5 separate regions of the Homo sapiens genome follow, and all the other regions are linked to region 2. Evidence: promoter capture Hi-C in 16 types of primary human blood cells and fetal thymus (Javierre and others, 2016). All regions are on one chromosome and are shown on one strand. The core of a region is centred on a gene start or on the middle of the fragment in contact, and the rest is flanking DNA. Distances in the headings are between cores, read along the strand shown.

Region 1 (3,208 bases), core at 111-2,610, 2.4 Mb after region 2:
AATCAAAACGGTAATTTCCACAAAACTTACTGGAACAGTTGCTTATATGGAGGGAGGAGAAAAGGAGAAGAGAGTGGAGAGAAAGTGGAGTAACTACATAAGTAATTAACAAGAACGACAATGATAAAAACAAGAAAGGGGTCTTGCAAAAGTTGAGAGGTCACATGTTACACTCATTTAATACTCACAACTCCTACCATCTGTAGTGCAGAGATGGGGAAACCAAGGATCTGAGAGAGTGGAATGGGGAATCGAGTCCAGGAGAGAGAGACCTCCCATTTATGAGCACCTACTGTGTACCGGATTAGCCTCATGATAGGCTTAGCCTCACGACACTGCCAAGGCAGAGAGATTGCCCTCACTTTACAAGGGCAGACACTAAGGTTCAGAAAGGGGAACTCTCTTGCCTGGGGACCCACAGCTTATAAGAACCAGCTGAGATTTGAGCCCAGGTGTGAGGCTCCAAAACTTGTGGTCTCTCCATGATGTGCCTTTTTCTCCATGTACCTATCAAAGGTTCAGGCCAGAAAAGGGAGGCAGAAGAAATCCCAAGGAACTGGAACCCAGGGCCATACCTGCAAGAAGTAGAGAGGCTCTGCCATGCCTGCAAGAAGTAGAGAGGCTCTGTATATTGGGAGAACATGGGAGGCGGTGCACCAACCAGTGGGGAGGGGGAAATCCCATCTCATGCCATGAAGCTACATGGCAGTCAGGTGGCCTTACTGGCTGCAGGTAAATGTGTGGACGAGCAGGCATGGTTGAGCTCAGCACAGGGGCAGGCTTGCTGGACAGACAATCACAGGCATCTCTGCCACACCCCCATTCTGTCTGACCTATAGGCAAGGCACAGAGCTTCTGTCCCCGAGCCACTGTCCATCTGCCCTTCCTTCCAGCCACCCTCCTAACAAACTGATTATTTTGCTTATTTACTTGTTGTCTCTTTCTGCCCCCAAAGACTGTAAAATCCATGAGGGCAGGGATTTTTGTGTGCTTTCTCCTTTGCCACATCCCCAGTGCCTGCATGTAGTAGACCTCAGTAAAAGCTTTGTTGAATAAATGAAATCATGAAAGGCCTTATATCCCATGCCAAGGAGTGTAGCGTGCTTCCTGAGGCACTGGGGTGGCTACTGTAGGGTCTGGGTAGAGCTGAGACATTCTCAGACCTGCCTGACAGCAGCAGTGGGTGCAATGGTTAGGAGTGTAGACTTCATAGCCCGGCTGCCAGGTGTGGCCCCTGTTCCCCACACAAGCCTTGTAACCTTGTGCAAGTCACTCAATCTCAGCTTCCTCATCTGCAAAATGGGGATGAAAATAGTACCTCCTTCATAAGGTTTTGAGAGGATGAAATGAGTTCATACGTGTGGTGTTTAGGACAGTACCTGGCATGATGGTAACATAATAGTCATGTATCAGTTTTTGCTACATAACAAGCCCACCAAAATTAGTGACTTAAAACAGCAATCTTTTATTTAACTCATGACTCTGTAGTTTGGCAATTTGGGATCATCTTGATCAACTATGAGGTTCTTCTGCTGGTCTTGGCTGGGCTCACTCCTGCTCAAGTTGGCAATCAATGACCTCACTCGCATGTTGTATGGTTATCTGGCTGTAGCTGGGGTTACAGGGTACCTGGGCTATGTGTCTCTCTCAACGTCCAGCAGATCAATTCAAGCTTGTTCATGTGGTGGCAGCTGCAGTGTTTCCAAGTGCAAAAAGATAAAGCAAACCCCAGTGTACAAGCACTATTCAAGCTTCTGCTTGTATCATTTTGCAAATATGTCCCATTGGCCAAAACACATCACATGGCCAACCCAGCTTCAAGAAGTAGAGAAACAGGCTCCACCCCTTAATAGGAGGGGAAGAATGTGTGGCCATTTTTGCAATCTATGACTGCCCTTGCTATTTCAGAAATGGCAAAGGCATCTAAAGAGAACTCAGGAGGCCTCTGCTAATGACCAGATTTGATGAAAGACTGGAAGCCCTACTGGGTGTGAGAAATGGGAAACCAGCCTGTCCCATTCCATATCCTTACTTCCCAGCCCTCTGTGATAAGAACTAGTTATTTTGAGTGGCAAGTGGGCTATGCCAGAAGTAGGTTTCTGCTCTGTCTCAAATGGCCCTCGAACTTTTGGGGATGGAGGACAGAGTGCAGGCTTTGAGCAGATCTTTCAGAGAGTGGTCAGGGCTGTCCGCCTGTAGCACCCTCTGAAGGTGGCATCCCCAAGCCTCAGCCTCCGCAATCCAGTCTGTAAAAGCCTGATCTCACTTAGCTCCTTCTCAAACAATAATTTGAAATCAACGAATCCTGTGCTGACATACTCCTCCCCTATGATTACTGAGCTCTAGACATGAGGAAACAGGCATTTCTCAACCAAGCCCTCCATCAGTGATTACCATTATTGCATAATTGGGGACCTCAGAAGCAACAGAGTGCCGTGAGCTGCCAGGCCCAAGCTCCTACTCAAATGACACTCTGAGTTCAGCTGCTAGAAGACAGGAAAATGTGGCTAATTGAGACTAAAGACTGCTCTGAGTAGCTTTCTAATTTTCCACAGTTAGTTCCTTTTTATTCTGCAGTGGTGTCCTTTTGGTAATTGACTTTCAAATAATACTTGTTACATATCATACTTAAACAGGAGTATTTCTGGCAGGGTTGAGCTATACAATGGATCTAGAAGTGGATTTCATTAAGGGAACCAGCTCTACAGATCTGAGGCACTCCCTCAGTGCCAGCCACACACTAATGTTCAAGAAACATGGCCCATGAGATATGTCCACACAGTTATCAGTGTACAGAAATCGCAGCATTATTTGTGTGTGCATGCAGCAACCACACAGACGATCACAGAATTCTCACATCTTTTCTCTCATTTTTCCTGACCCTGTGAGTTTAAAAGGACAAGAAACAAATGAGGACACTAGATTCATCAAAATTGGATCATGAAGCATGTTACTGCACATCTACTATATGCCAAGCATTGGAAATACAGACATGAATACAGCAACACCTGCCTTCAAGATGTTCACAACATGGGGGCATGGATGGGGAAAACCAAAAAGCAAAAAATTATAATAATGCAGTGGGAAAGTCAACATTATAGAGATTTATACACATGCAAGATGGAGCACAGAAGACAGTAACTCTCTGGGGATTGAGGAAGTGAAAGGAAATGAAAGTCAAGTTGAGTCCTGAAGGATGCCTAGAAGT
Region 2 (3,236 bases), core at 275-2,774:
GCCCCACCCAAGACCTTCGGGACGAAAACAAAAACCCCCGTGTGCCCCCCGAGGAAAAGGCCCCGAGGGAGGCGGCGCTGAGGCGTCACGGCCTCGCCATGCGCCCGGGTGAAGCCGCCGGAGCCAGGCCTGGGGGCGGAGTGGGGTGGGTGCAGCTGGACTCGCCCGCGAAGCCTAGCCGGAGCCAGGCCCCGACCCGCCCTGGCCGCCTCCAGAGAAACCCTGAGAAGGGAGAGGAGGCCAGCCGCGTGGCGCGCCCAGCCCTGGAGGCCAGGTCATCAAATTGACAAAGTTGGCCACAGCCTGGGGAATGGGGGGTGTCCACGGGGGCCGTGGTCTGGCCTTGTCCCCGGGCCACGGAGAGGCCCCACAACTCCTCTTGTCCTCGCCGGTTGGAGATCAAACGGCTGACAAGGCAGCTGCGTCCTTCCCAGTCTGACAGGCATTTCCAAGTCCTACCCTGGGCCGAGGAGCGCGGGGGGCGGGGTGTGACTTCCAGGTTGCTGTGATTGTCAGGGGCGCCTCCTGGAGTCACCCACCCGAGTATCTGCGGAGATTTGGCCACACCTACTCCTGGGCTGGCAAGTCCAAGTCCCTCTCCCACGTGGAGCGCCCCGGTCCCTTTACCCTCTCGCTTGCCATAGACCCAGTTTAGGAGGTGGGGTCGTGTTTGACCCCAGGAGTTAATCGGGGTAAGGTGAGGGGAGGGGACAAAGATTTGAGTGAAAATCCTTTTCCAAGTGGGACTCAAACAAGGTCTCAAACACTTCTCACCCCCTCACGTGCTCTTGATTCTGTTGTCTTAGTGTCGTTTATTTTGTCATCCTCACCCTCCCAGAGTCTGTAATACCAGGATTTATATGGAGACACTTTTTGGAAGTTGAACTCCAACATCTACTCCCCTCCCCTCGCCGCCCGCGACCATAAAACAAAAGTAAAAACTACCAAGCGACTTTTCCAGGGAAACGAAGCGATTCTTACTGTCCCCCCAACTCCCATGTCGACCCCAACCCTTTTCCACAGTCCACGCCCCCACCCCCAAAGTCCAAGTCCGAAAGAGCTTTTGGGTGGGTGGAGACTTGCATTGATTCAATTTAGTTCACTCACACAGCACCCCGCCCCCCTTCTCAGGGGGTCCTGCTCCCAGGATGGAGGAGATATAAGGACGATTTTTCTTTTATTTTAAAATAAGCTGCCCAGTGGCCCCCCCCAACCCCCTCCCGCTGTTGCGCAGCCGGGGCTCGGGGGAGATGAGCGCACAAAAACGCGGTTTGCACGTGTGTCCGGCTTGGGCTGCGGGTGTGCGCAACTGGCGACTGTGTGTGTGTGTGTGTGAGTGTGCGCGCGCGCGCGAGTGTGTCTCTGTGTGTGCTTTCTTGTTCTCTTACAGGGTACAATGTTAAAAAGCCACCGCTAGTCGCCCCCAGTGCTCCGACTCTCTGGGTCTTTTTGTCTCTAGTGCAGATTAAACGTCACGTCCGCACTTGAACTTGAATTTTATCCCATTGTACAGAGGCAGCCCCAGCCATAGAGAGACCGAGAGCTCCCAGAGAACCCGGACTCCGCCATCTTCACGTTGCAATCTATAGCTCCCAGTCTGCGCCCGCACCGACCCAGGCGCACTGGGCGAGCCGCCCCTCCGCCCCGCTCCCCCCGGGCCCGCGGCGCCAGGGGAGCGCTGGGGAGCGCTCGCGGGGACTCGGCAGCCCCTCCGGCCGGCGCCAGCCTGCCAGGTGAACTGGGAAGGAGCCTCTCCTGGTGTCCCCCCAGAGCCTCGGAAGGGTCAGTCTCCGAGAAAAAACAAAAACAAAAACAAAAACAGGCAGCCCGCAGAAAACCCAGAAACAACCGAACCGGGGCAGTTTTACATTGCTTTGGGTTTTTTGAGGGGGCGGGGTGAGGGGGTACGAGACAAGTCCCCAAGTTTTCTTTGCTTTTTTTTTTCCTTTGCTTTTTCTTCTTTTATTTTTTTATTTGTTTGCATTTTTTTTCCCCTCCTGGTAGAAGTGCGCTTTCCACCTACCAGACCCTGAAAGAAAGTGTCAGGAGCCGGTGCAAAACCCAGTTTAAGTTCAAGAAGACATTTGCAAGTGCAAGAGGCCAAGCAGTTTGAAGAAGTGTAAGAGATTTTTTTTCCTTCGAAAGAATATATTTTTAAAGAAACCAGCCAGTCCGCGGAAAGCAACAGCAGTTTTTTTTTTTTTTGCCTCTTTTTCTTATTTTAGATCGAGAGGTTTTTCTTGCTTTTCTTCCCTTTTTTTTCTTTTTGCAAACAAAACAAAAAACAGCATAGAAGAAAGAGCAAAATAAAGAAGAAGAAGAGGAGGAAGAGAGGGAAAGAGAGGAAGGGAAAAAAAACACCAACCCGGGCAGAGGAGGAGGTGCGGCGGCGGCGGCGGCGGCGGCAGCGGCGGCAGCGGCGCGGCGGCGGCTCGGACCCCCTCCCCCGGCTCCCCCCATCAGTGCAGCTCTCCGGGCGATGCCAGAATAGATGCCGGGGCAATGTCCCGCCGCAAACAGGGCAACCCGCAGCACTTGTCCCAGAGGGAGCTCATCACCCGTAAGTGTCTGCGGAGTGCGCGCGAGGGGCCGGAGATGGGGCTCCGGGCGTCTGGGGCTGGGGACACCGAGCCCGGAACAGCCGAGCCTGGCCAGGCGCCGGGGCCGCCCGCTGGCTGGCAGAGTCTACGGCGTCGGCCTGGAGCATGGCGGGGGGCGGGGGCCATAGGAAAGTTTCTTTGCAGCCCGGGGAGTTGGGGCGCCGAGCAGCCGGACGCGCCTCGGGCTCGGGGGCCTGCGGAGCCGGCTCCGGGCCGGGGAGGGGGCATGCAGGCTGGAGGAGTGTGTGTGTGTGCGCGCCGAGCCCGGCTGGACGCTCGCCCCTCCGAGCGGCGTGTGTGGCGGCGGCGGCGCTGGTGGCGGGGTTTGGAGAGGAGGGGGAGGGGGCTGGGGGAGCGGAGGGGGAGGGGGAGCCGGGAAGTGGGGAAAAGTTGGCGAGCGCGTGGGTCCGCGCTGACGGCGCGGGCGGAGGAGAGCGGGGTGCGTTCCGGCTGGGGGAGCCGTAGGGCCAGGGGCGGCCGCCGGCTCCGGGTCCCCGGTCCCTGCGCCCGGCCCAGCAGGGTGCCGGCCGCGCCAGTCCTAGGATTCCGCAGCCGCCTTTCTCTCCCCTCCTCCTGCTATTTGCAAAATAATCCAGCTGCGCGGCTGTTTGCCGGGCTCAAGCCCCCCTCCCCACC
Region 3 (3,350 bases), core at 400-2,899, 2.7 Mb after region 2:
CTCAAGCATTCAACCTCTTTCCAGTGTTAGCTTTCCTCAATTCTAACCTGGACCAAAGTTCAAATAGCCACAGATCACCTTGGCTATCCCAAGTAAGGAAGAATTGTTAGTTAGAACATTTAAGCCAATGAGCGCTGAAGGGTGAATGCTCAGAGAGCATCAGGACACAGTAGTAACAGCTGCAGTATGAGGCTCTTCACTTACTTACCTTTTATCCTCACAATCACCTTAAAAGGACATTGCTCATCTCCACTGAAAAGGAATACGAGCTTCAAAGAAAATGCTGTAACTGCATGAGCTCAATAGCTAGTAAGTGCTGAAGCTAAGACCTGAATGCAGCTCTGCCTTGAAAACAGGCATTCTTTCCGCTACACACAGAAAGTTGTGTACTAAATGTTTTAATTCAGCTGATATGATAAAATGGCAGTCAAGATGAACTGCCTGATGGGCAACTTTGCTGAATATTTCTAGCATGTGCCAAACCCAGCAAATGATGTATCCTATGGAATTTAATTCTTAACAACCAGAAATTAGGCATCCGTACCACAATGCCAATGCCATCCCCTTTCCACTCAGCAAAATGCCCAGACCTCTTATTTTCCATGCATCTTTATCACAATGCCAATGCCATTTCCCTTCCACTCAACAAAAGGCCTACATAGACCACTTATTTTCCAAGAGGCCCCAGTCTTCTAATTGGCCCTAACATCCGGGCATGCCTCAAACTCCCTGTATTCTCCCCCCATGTTAAACCAATATAGCAGGTTTCAAGTAAAACACCACTCAAGTCAGAGCCTCTAAGGTGCTTCAACTTCTAATCCTTCCTTCATGGAAGCTCCAATGCTTTGGATATTATGATCCTGAGTGGTGATCAAAATAAGATTACAAACAAGAATTTCCAAAGAATTCAGAATTAATGGAGTCATGCTAATTTATGTGGTTTAGCCACTTACTAGCCATATTACTAATTATTTTCTCTAGGCTTCTGGCCTCACCTTACTGTTCAATACTTGTTTCCCCACATCCCAGTTATACTACCCTTCTTTAAAAATTCTGTTCCTAACATGTGAAAATTCTACTTCAAACCTTTCTGAAAATGAAGATTTTCGTGTTTTCCTACAGCCTGTTTGGTTAACAGCCAAATTCAAAGCTCTTCATAAAGTACCGCAAGGGGCCAGGTGCAGTGGCTCACACCTGTAATACCAACACTTTGGGAGGCCGAAGCAGGCAAACTGCCTGAGGCCAGGAGTTCAAGACCAGCCTGGCCAACATGGAGAAACCCTATCTCAACTAAAAACACAAAAATTAGCCAGGTGTGGTGGTGCATACCTGTAATCCCTGCTACTTGGGAGGCTGAAGCACGAGAATCACTTGAACTCAGGAGGCAGAGGCTGTAATGAGCCAAGATTGTGCCACTGTACTCCAGCCTGGGCGACACAGCAAGACTCTGTCTCAAAAAAAAAAAAAAAAAAAGGTGCTACAAGGCCAAGGGGGAGCTAAGAAAATACCAGGAGTCCTTGCAGCTCACCTTTCTTCTACCCATCCCAAGTCTATCTTCTAGGGATTATGATTTAGAGTCCATGACTAGAACTCTCCTTTCAAAAGCCAACCCTGGTAAGTCTGGCAGAGGAAACCCTTCTTTGGAGGTCTCTGAGAACAAATCTGGCCTCAGAAAACATGCTCTCAACATGCTACAGTTCAGTTCACTAAACCAGAGTCCTGTAAGACATTCCATCTTACCTCTTCCCATATCAAAAGTGAGTCAGTAGAACAAATAATACAGAATAGCAAGAACACACTTTACGAGATGGACAGAAGTAGAGAGAAATTACATGATCTTTGATGTCACTTGATAGTTTCTTCATCTATTGCAAATTACTGCTTTTATCTTCCTATCAGTGGATTTCTAGCTTAGCAATAGCTCATGCTCACCATAAACCTCGCAAAAGCCTACTGAGAAAACCTGGTATCGCCCTAATGTACAAGTTGCTCCACTACACCCACAGGTACTACTTCACTTGGGGGATTTATCCTGATTACGATATATCCGAGGACACGAGCTTAACCTTATTCCCCTCTTCAGGTGTGTGGTTCCTAGAGAATGAGTGGTGTTAGACTACCACTACTCAAATAACAGGGAATGAGTGATGTGCTAACATACTCTAGCTATAAAACACATCCCTACATCTGACTTTGGATAAGAAAACCAGCTAGTGACTCCTGAGTAATGTTTTGAGGTCCCCTGTTAAATGAAGTAGAGATGGGTCATAACTGGCTTCTAAGGAGACTATGGGGATTAAGAAAATCGCCTTGAGCCAAGCTAAAACTTCAACTGCTGCCTAGAGATGGCAACATGAAATACAGACTCCTCTCTCAATGGAAATGGTTGAGCAGAGGCCGTCACAGACAAAATGAACGAGAAGGCTCATTAGGTGCCTTCTACTTTGAGACTTTAAAATTTAAACATTTTAAATGTAAATTTTTAAAGAAGACTGGTTATTTTCAAGGAAAAAAAAAAGTTATTCAACAATTTAGGCAGATGACAAAGACCATGCTTGGAAAACTAGCTTTACGAGAATTTTCATTGTTAAGAAACCAAAGTGTTCACGTTTGGGTCATTCAACATGACAAAGGCCACAATGGTATCAGTTTCCTCAAAAGAGAAGTCTACTAAAATAGTCTCATATTTAAGAAAACCTAAGTGAAAAACATGTAACCTAACACAGCTTAAAAATTACAGGAAAAATTTGTACCTTTAAAGTCGCATTAAAGAGAGCCAAAAAAATCTTACAGGTTATCAAGGAGACCACACAAAACATGAACAGCTAAATTGGATGCCAGTAGCCTAAGTTTACAAACAGTGATAGATGAAAAATACAGTTACAATAAGTATGGCTAAAATGTCTAATATCCCATAACCAATGCTTATTGAAGCCAATGCTTATTCTTGAGGCAGGCTTTGTATGAAAACTGTAGTAATACTTTTAAAACTTGTACTATTTTACTATAAAAGCCAAATTAGGATGAACTGAGTGCTTTAAATAATTTTCAAAAATAATTATTTTACAGTTGGAAAGTGTGTGTTGTATATGCAGAGATTTGTCCTGAGCATCTCAAGAACTTAAGGAAAAAAATGGTAATGTGAAGTAAGCCAAAGCGACAGAGAGAGAGGTAGTAGCCTAATAGTGCAGTAAAGTTCCCCTAACAGTCTTGGCACAGTGTCCAGGCATGGTCGGTTCTCAGCTGGGGGCAACTTTCTTGGCTGTGAAGGCAGATCATGCCCTCTGTCACTCATGGGGAGCAGTTCTGCCCAACTGTCTCTTTTCGACAACTTTATCATCAATCTCTTT
Region 4 (3,025 bases), core at 166-2,665, 2.5 Mb after region 2:
GCTATCATCTTTATTATACGACATTTTGCTGGAGGTACTAGTCAAAGCAATTAGGTGAGAAGAGGGATAAAATAATAAATATAAGAAAGCAAGAAATTTACGTTCCCATTTTGTGCAGGCAATATGATCATTTGCTTTCTAACTGAAGAAGCACTAGAAAGAATAAGAGATTTCAATAAGTTTCTGGAATATATATAATAGGTTTTCTTTTTTATTACTTTTTTTAAAAATTTTAAGTTCTGGAATACATGTGCAGGATGCGCAGGTTTGTTACATAAGTAAACCTGTGCCATAGAGGTTTGCTGCACCTATCAACTCATCACCTAAATATTAAGCCTCGCATGCATTAGCTATTTATCCTGATAATAGGTTTTCTATACACAATGACCAATTGGAAAATATAATAGGAAAAAAATCCTGTTCACAAAAAAAAAATAACATTTGTCAGTACAAATATGTAGAAATAAACTTTACAAAAAATGTGCACATTCTATTTTTTAAAAAAACTATAAGCTTTTCTCAATGATATAAGACAGCTTTAAAAAAATCAAGAGCATACTATTTGTAGATGGTGTACTCTGCTATAAAGATGTCAGTATTCCTCAAATTCACTTTTAAATGTTATGTATTCCCAATAAAAAGTTTATAGAACTTGATAAAGTGATTTTCAAGTCCATCTGTTTGAGTCCAAGAAGAATAAAAATGTCAAACATCTTACATGTTCTAGTAGCTTAAGTACTAGAAACAGACACAGAAACAGACAAATAGATCAATGAAATAAGAGAGAATACAAAAAAGAACTGTTGGATAAATGACAATTTTGTTGGTGGTAAAGATGGCATCTTACATTAGTGGAGAGCACAGACTATTCGAGAAATAACCTTGAGATAATTGGCCCTCCATTTAGAAATAATTTTAGAACTTTACCTCACACCATATACAATAATAGATTCTAGTTAAATCAAACAGCTAAGAGTAAAATTCTAAACTATAAAAGTGTATGACTAAAAGATAGGGGAACAGTCTCTAGAATGCCAAGTGAGCAAGACCTCCCTCAGCAAGGCACAAAAGAAGCCGTAAAGTGTCAGATCTCAAATCTTTCCCTCTGTTCCAGCCACACTCCTAGCAGTTACTGGACATTGCAGGCAGGCTCAGCTCTTGCTGTTCCCTAGGCCTGGCTGTTCTTCCCCCAGGCCTCTGTTTTAATGTTATCTTGTTAATGAGGCCTTCCCTGACCCTTTTCGAAAAATAGGCTTCGCTGGGCGCCGTGGCTCATGCCTGTAATCCCAGTGCTTTGGGAGGCTGAGGCAGGAGGATTGCTTGAGGCCAGGAGTTAAAGACCAGCCCAGGCAACACAGTGAGACCCCGACTCTACAAAAATAAAATAAAATAAAACTGGCCAGGCTTGTTGCTGCACACCTGTAGTCTCAGCTACTCAGGAGGCTGAAGTGGGAGGATCACTTGAGCCCAGGAGTTCAAGGATCCAGTGAGCTATGACTGTGCCATTGCACTCCAGCCTGAGCAGAAGAGGAAGACCCTGTCTCCAAAAAACAAAAAGCAAACAAACAAAAAACAGGCTTTAAAAGTAAAGTAAGCCTCTACTGCAATTCTGTGCTGAAGCGTAGCTCTACAGGAACATGGTGGAATCAAGGGCTTTTTTTGTTGGAAACATCTAATAGATTAATTTGTCTAACAACACATTTAGGTCCTGAAGTCTCTCTATAACCTGTGCTTAAATGCTTCCAATGTCAGGGAAAGCATTATCCTCCAGGAGGATCTGTTCTGTCAATCTATCCACCAACCCATCATTCATCCACCCACCCAGCCATCCATCCATCCACCTATCTGTCCAACAGCCCACCCATCCTTCCTTGCACCCATTCATTCATTCGCTACCTCCTCATCCTTCCATCCATCTTTCCATTTATCCATCCATCTACCCACTCATTCATCCACAGCACCATTACACAAACATTTACAGAGCATGTATTATGCACCAGGCATGGTGGTAGGCACTGGGGTTTTTGAATTGAATATATCATGGTCAGGCTGTCAAGGACTTCAGAGTTTGTGCATGTAAACAAATAACAGTAACACATTATGACAAGAGCTGTAACAGAGTTCCTTTTCAACTGCTGTGGAAGAATGGAAGTAATAACTTCTGGGGGTGTCAGAGAAGGTTCCCAGCAGGGATAGCATGTTAGCCAGGAGCTGAAGAATGTCTAAGAGATATCCTCCAAGCAGAGACGGGAAGAAGGGCATTATAGATGGAGGGAATAGAAACAGAATGCAAACATGTATACACACAAAAGCTTCATAAAATTGCAAATAGGAGGGCAGGACAGGGGATGTATGAGATGGGGAAGAGTGAGGCAGGAAGAAAGGCATCAGGCAGTGTGCCTGGAAATGTGACAAGAGACGGATTCTGAAAATCTTTGCAAATCTTGCTTAGGTTAAAGTTTTGGTGAGTAGAATGTTCTCTAGAAATCTCCGTAAAAAAAAAATATGCAAAGAATCCCCATGCTGTTCTTACATTAATCTGTGCTGCCGGCTTGGGCTTAGATGCAGCTTTGCAAAATATATTTTTTAAAGTTTCATTATGCCACTGTACATCAAAATAGGCCAATATAAATTATAATACGGTCATGCCAATAGGACTTGCAAACACAATATTTTAAGTTTATATTGCATTCCAAGACCCATAAAAATTATTCCGAATGGCTGTTTGCTTTTTGAAGCCAAATGAAAAGGTATTTGCAATTTGATTATTAACAAATCAAATCACTGATGTGATATTGGATTCGGTACATCTCAAACTGACTGAGAGTGAAAAATCCTCAGTGGTCAATTATGTAGCATGGCTGGTTTATAGTTTCCTGTGTGTCATTAAGAATAAGCACCACGGCCAACTCAGATTTTATTTTGATTTATTTTAACCATTTCTCTACCCTGAGAATTTCTCTCCTAGCCTCTAGCAGGCATAGCAGCTTTGCCCTAACTGACATTGGTGTGGGTACGACCTGTT
Region 5 (3,287 bases), core at 782-3,281, 2.7 Mb after region 2:
ACTGGAGTGCTTTGGGCTGCAAGTAACAGACAAACCAACTCAAAGAGGTTTAAACATCTCATCAAAAAGTGGGCTAAGGACATGAATAGACAATTCTCAAAAGAAGATATACAAATGGCCAAGAAACATGAAAAAATGCTTAACATCACTAATGATCAGGGAAATGCAAATCAAAACCACAATATGATATCACCTTACTCCTGCAAGAATGGCTGTAATCATAAAATCCAAAAAACAGTAGATGTTGGCATGGATGCGGTGAGCAGGAAACACTTCTACACTGCTGGTGAGAATGTAAACTAGTACAGCCACCATGGAAAACAGTGTGGAGATTCCTTAAAGAACTAAAAGTAGAACTACCATTTCATCCAGCAATCCCACTACTGGGTATCTACCCAGAGGAAAAGAAGTCATTATGTGAAAAAGATACTTGCACACGCATGTTTATAGCAGCACAATCCACAATTGCAAAATCGTGGAACCAACCCAAATGCTCATCAATCAACGAGTGGATAAAGAAACTGTGATATAGATATATATGATGGAATACTACTCAGCCATAAAAAGGAATGAAGTAACGGCATTCGCGGTGACCTGGGTGAGATTGGAGACTATTCTTCTAAGTGAAGTCACTCAGGAATGGAAAACCAAACATTGTATATTCTCACTGATATGTGGGAGCTAAGCTATAAGGATGCAAAGGCATAAGAATGATACAATGGACTTTGGGGACTTGGGGGGAAGGGTGGAAGGGGGTAAGAGACAAAAGACTGCAAATAGGGTGCAGTGTATACTGCTCGGGTGATGGGTGCACCAAAATCTCACAAATCACCACTAAAGAACTGACTTATGTAACCAAACACCACCTATACCCCAATAACCTATGGAAAAAGAAAAAAAGAGATTTAAGCACTGAGGATTTTCATGACCACACACAAAAGACCCTGAGGTGGCCAACCTCAGACCAGCTTCAATGTCGGGGGAATGGGAACCATAGACCAAACACAACTTACCTGAAGCCCAGCCAGGTGGAAGAGGGTGGAGCCTGAGAAAATCAGACTCCGCCAGCAGGGAAGTGGGGGAGTGAATTTGGAGTGAGCAACAAGAATGTCTGCCACACCTGCTTATGAAATAGCTTTGCAGGTGAATTTTCTCATTTACTTGCAAGGCATTCTTACTTGTTAGCATTTCCTAATGATGCTGAGAAAATAGGAATACCATTGGTAAAAGCTTGATCAGGAAAAATGAACAGTCTTGTCCTTGGTGCTTCACACCCAAGAGCCACTGGTTCCCAACCCCTCAGGCGGAAGCAGACTTTGGTGGCCTCATTGCCTGTGACCCCAGGCCTCCAGTCAAACGCATGGCCTGGCAAAATTCCTTTCTTGGAAAATGCCTGAGATGATCGCATGAATCCTCCTACACAGCCTAGGGATTACAACCAACTGGGAAAGGAGTGGAGGAAGGAGGTCACTGGCCCCAGGAGGGTGAGTCAGCTGTCCTACCAACCCACCCCTCACTCCTGATCTCCTTCTGCTGTGATCCACCTCTCAACAAAGAGTTGGATCTCTCAAGATCCATCTCTTGGCCTCACGTTCCTGACTGTGGACCACACTCTGGCCCCTCTAAGACCAGCACTTGCACAGGCCCTGCTGGAAGTACAGCCTCAGCTCATGGGGCAGTTTCAGCATGGCTTGACTCTCACGCCCTGCTGCCTGGGGAGGGCCACACAGCCCAGACTCAGCCTCAGCCTCAGGAAAGCCAACCCCCATCCCTACTTGGCCACCATTAGCTGGCAGAGCGGGGGGAGGGGTAGGTGGGTCCTGATGCCACTGCCATGAGCCACAGCAACTGTCAGCTAAGACCCCAGTCCCGTAATTGGCACCTAGCAAACAATCTGGGAGGTGCTAGGGTTGGGCCCCCAGCATGCGTTAGCCATCGTGGTTATAGAAGCAGCAGCCTCCTGAGGGCAAATGTGGACTGCAGTTGCAGTGTGCTTCCTAAAGCATTGGTCCCCAGCTCAAGCATGGCCCCAGGGTAAGTGGGGGCTGCGAGTGAGGCACAGATTCAGGAGTGCAGAGCCAGGCTAGGGCCTTGGCTGTCCTGGCTTTGGACCCCAATGAGATAGGCACACCCATTTGTAGTTGCACGTCACGATGCTGCAGTATTCATGTCATGGTTGGCTGGCTCTCTGCAATTTCCCCCTCTTCCAGAAGTAGCACCCTGTGCAGTCCAGGTCCTGAGTATCCCCCACCCATGCACTGGAAAGACACCCAAGTGGATGGGCCAAAGAGTCTGCCCACCAGAGTTTGGGAATTGACACCTGGTGGTACCAAGACACAGGGCAGTGGGCACTGAAGTTGAGTCCTGTAAGGGCTGGGCCCCCAGAAGACGGCCACCGCCTCCTGCTGCCCCAGTCCCCACGGCTACCTATTCTTCCTGGGCCAGTGCCTCCTGTAGTCCACAAAACACCCTCACTTCCTGCCAGGAGACTCTTTTTTTGTTTTTGTCAGATAAGACAGAGTCGGTTTCTGTTGCTTGAGTCCGAATGAACACACGGCCCTCAGCCACGCTCTCATTTTACAGGTGTGACCTGGGGCCCAGCAGGCATGTGACGTGTAGAGGTTGCGCTGGCCGTGCATGCAGGTCTGAGAGAACCCCAGTTTCTAGGCACCCCCTCACTCCTCTTTCTGACAATCTGCTTGGTAAACGTGTGGACTCGGCCCCTTCCTGGGGCCCTCTTGGCTCTGCCTTCAGAGGTGTCCACATGCCCTGTGTTGGTGCTGCTTGGGAAGGCAAAGGCCCCAATCTGCTCAGACCAAGTGGTAAGCTTGGACCAAGCGGATCCAGACCTGTGGGGAGGCAAACACACCCTCACCACCATCCCTCCCCAGGAGCGCATCCAAAGGCCTGGCATCAGGGCTTTCCAAACTACCAGGAAAGGGCGCTCCACAGGTGAACACACTTCCAGCTCCAACAATTTCCCAGGGAAGAAAAAGTTGCCATGCCCCTAGATAAAGGGTGTGCGGAGCAGCAGGGGAAAGTGGAGCAGCAGGGGAAACGGCTTCTGGTGTGCGCACTGCTCCCTTAGCTGCAGGAGTGTCCCTGATCTCAGTAGTAGATAAACTCTTGGCAAAGCTGGGTTTTCCATGGTTTGCTGAACTCCTGAACACAGATGTCCCATTTGTGTTTCGTTAGTACATCAGCCGCTCTGCGGCTTTCGACCTCTGCACCAGGCAATAATTACCTGGCTCGGGCCCATCCCCTCACCAGCTGGCCGGGGACTTGCT

What was found. Contacts are between HindIII fragments. The CHiCAGO score rates a contact against its expected background, and 5 or more counts as called.
Region 1: a contact is called between a fragment that was not itself captured here and the fragment with the promoter of BCL11B in region 2, in 1 of 17 cell types (endothelial precursors). The highest score is 5.4, in endothelial precursors.
Region 3: a contact is called between a fragment that was not itself captured here and the fragment with the promoter of BCL11B in region 2, in 1 of 17 cell types (endothelial precursors). The highest score is 5.7, in endothelial precursors.
Region 4: a contact is called between a fragment that was not itself captured here and the fragment with the promoter of BCL11B in region 2, in 1 of 17 cell types (endothelial precursors). The highest score is 7.5, in endothelial precursors.
Region 5: a fragment that was not itself captured here is called in contact with the fragment with the promoter of BCL11B in region 2 in 1 of 17 cell types (endothelial precursors); the score reaches 10.2 in endothelial precursors.

What each region holds. Positions count from the first base shown.
Region 1 is chr14:96,905,234-96,908,441 of GRCh38, reverse strand. No RefSeq gene overlaps it. Among named protein-coding and RNA genes, the nearest start is that of LINC00618, 37 kb to the left of the region's middle. The HindIII fragment of the contact is 629 bases long and covers 1,046-1,674 here.
Region 2 is chr14:99,270,485-99,273,720 of GRCh38, reverse strand. BCL11B (BCL11 transcription factor B) reads left to right here and starts at 1,524. Exons shown (of 4, transcript NM_138576.4): 1 at 1,524-2,560. The coding sequence starts at 2,503. RefSeq lists a silencer at 1,598-1,677. The HindIII fragment of the contact is 13,366 bases long and covers 1-3,236 here.
Region 3 is chr14:96,570,559-96,573,908 of GRCh38, reverse strand. No RefSeq gene overlaps it. Among named protein-coding and RNA genes, the nearest start is that of PAPOLA, 70 kb to the right of the region's middle. The HindIII fragment of the contact is 4,574 bases long and covers 1-3,350 here.
Region 4 is chr14:96,759,516-96,762,540 of GRCh38, reverse strand. All of the region lies in intron 3 of LINC02299 (long intergenic non-protein coding RNA 2299), which reads right to left. Among named protein-coding and RNA genes, the nearest start is that of LINC02299, 20 kb to the right of the region's middle. The HindIII fragment of the contact is 1,799 bases long and covers 516-2,314 here.
Region 5 is chr14:96,598,659-96,601,945 of GRCh38, reverse strand. No RefSeq gene overlaps it. Among named protein-coding and RNA genes, the nearest start is that of PAPOLA, 98 kb to the right of the region's middle. The HindIII fragment of the contact is 1,597 bases long and covers 1,233-2,829 here.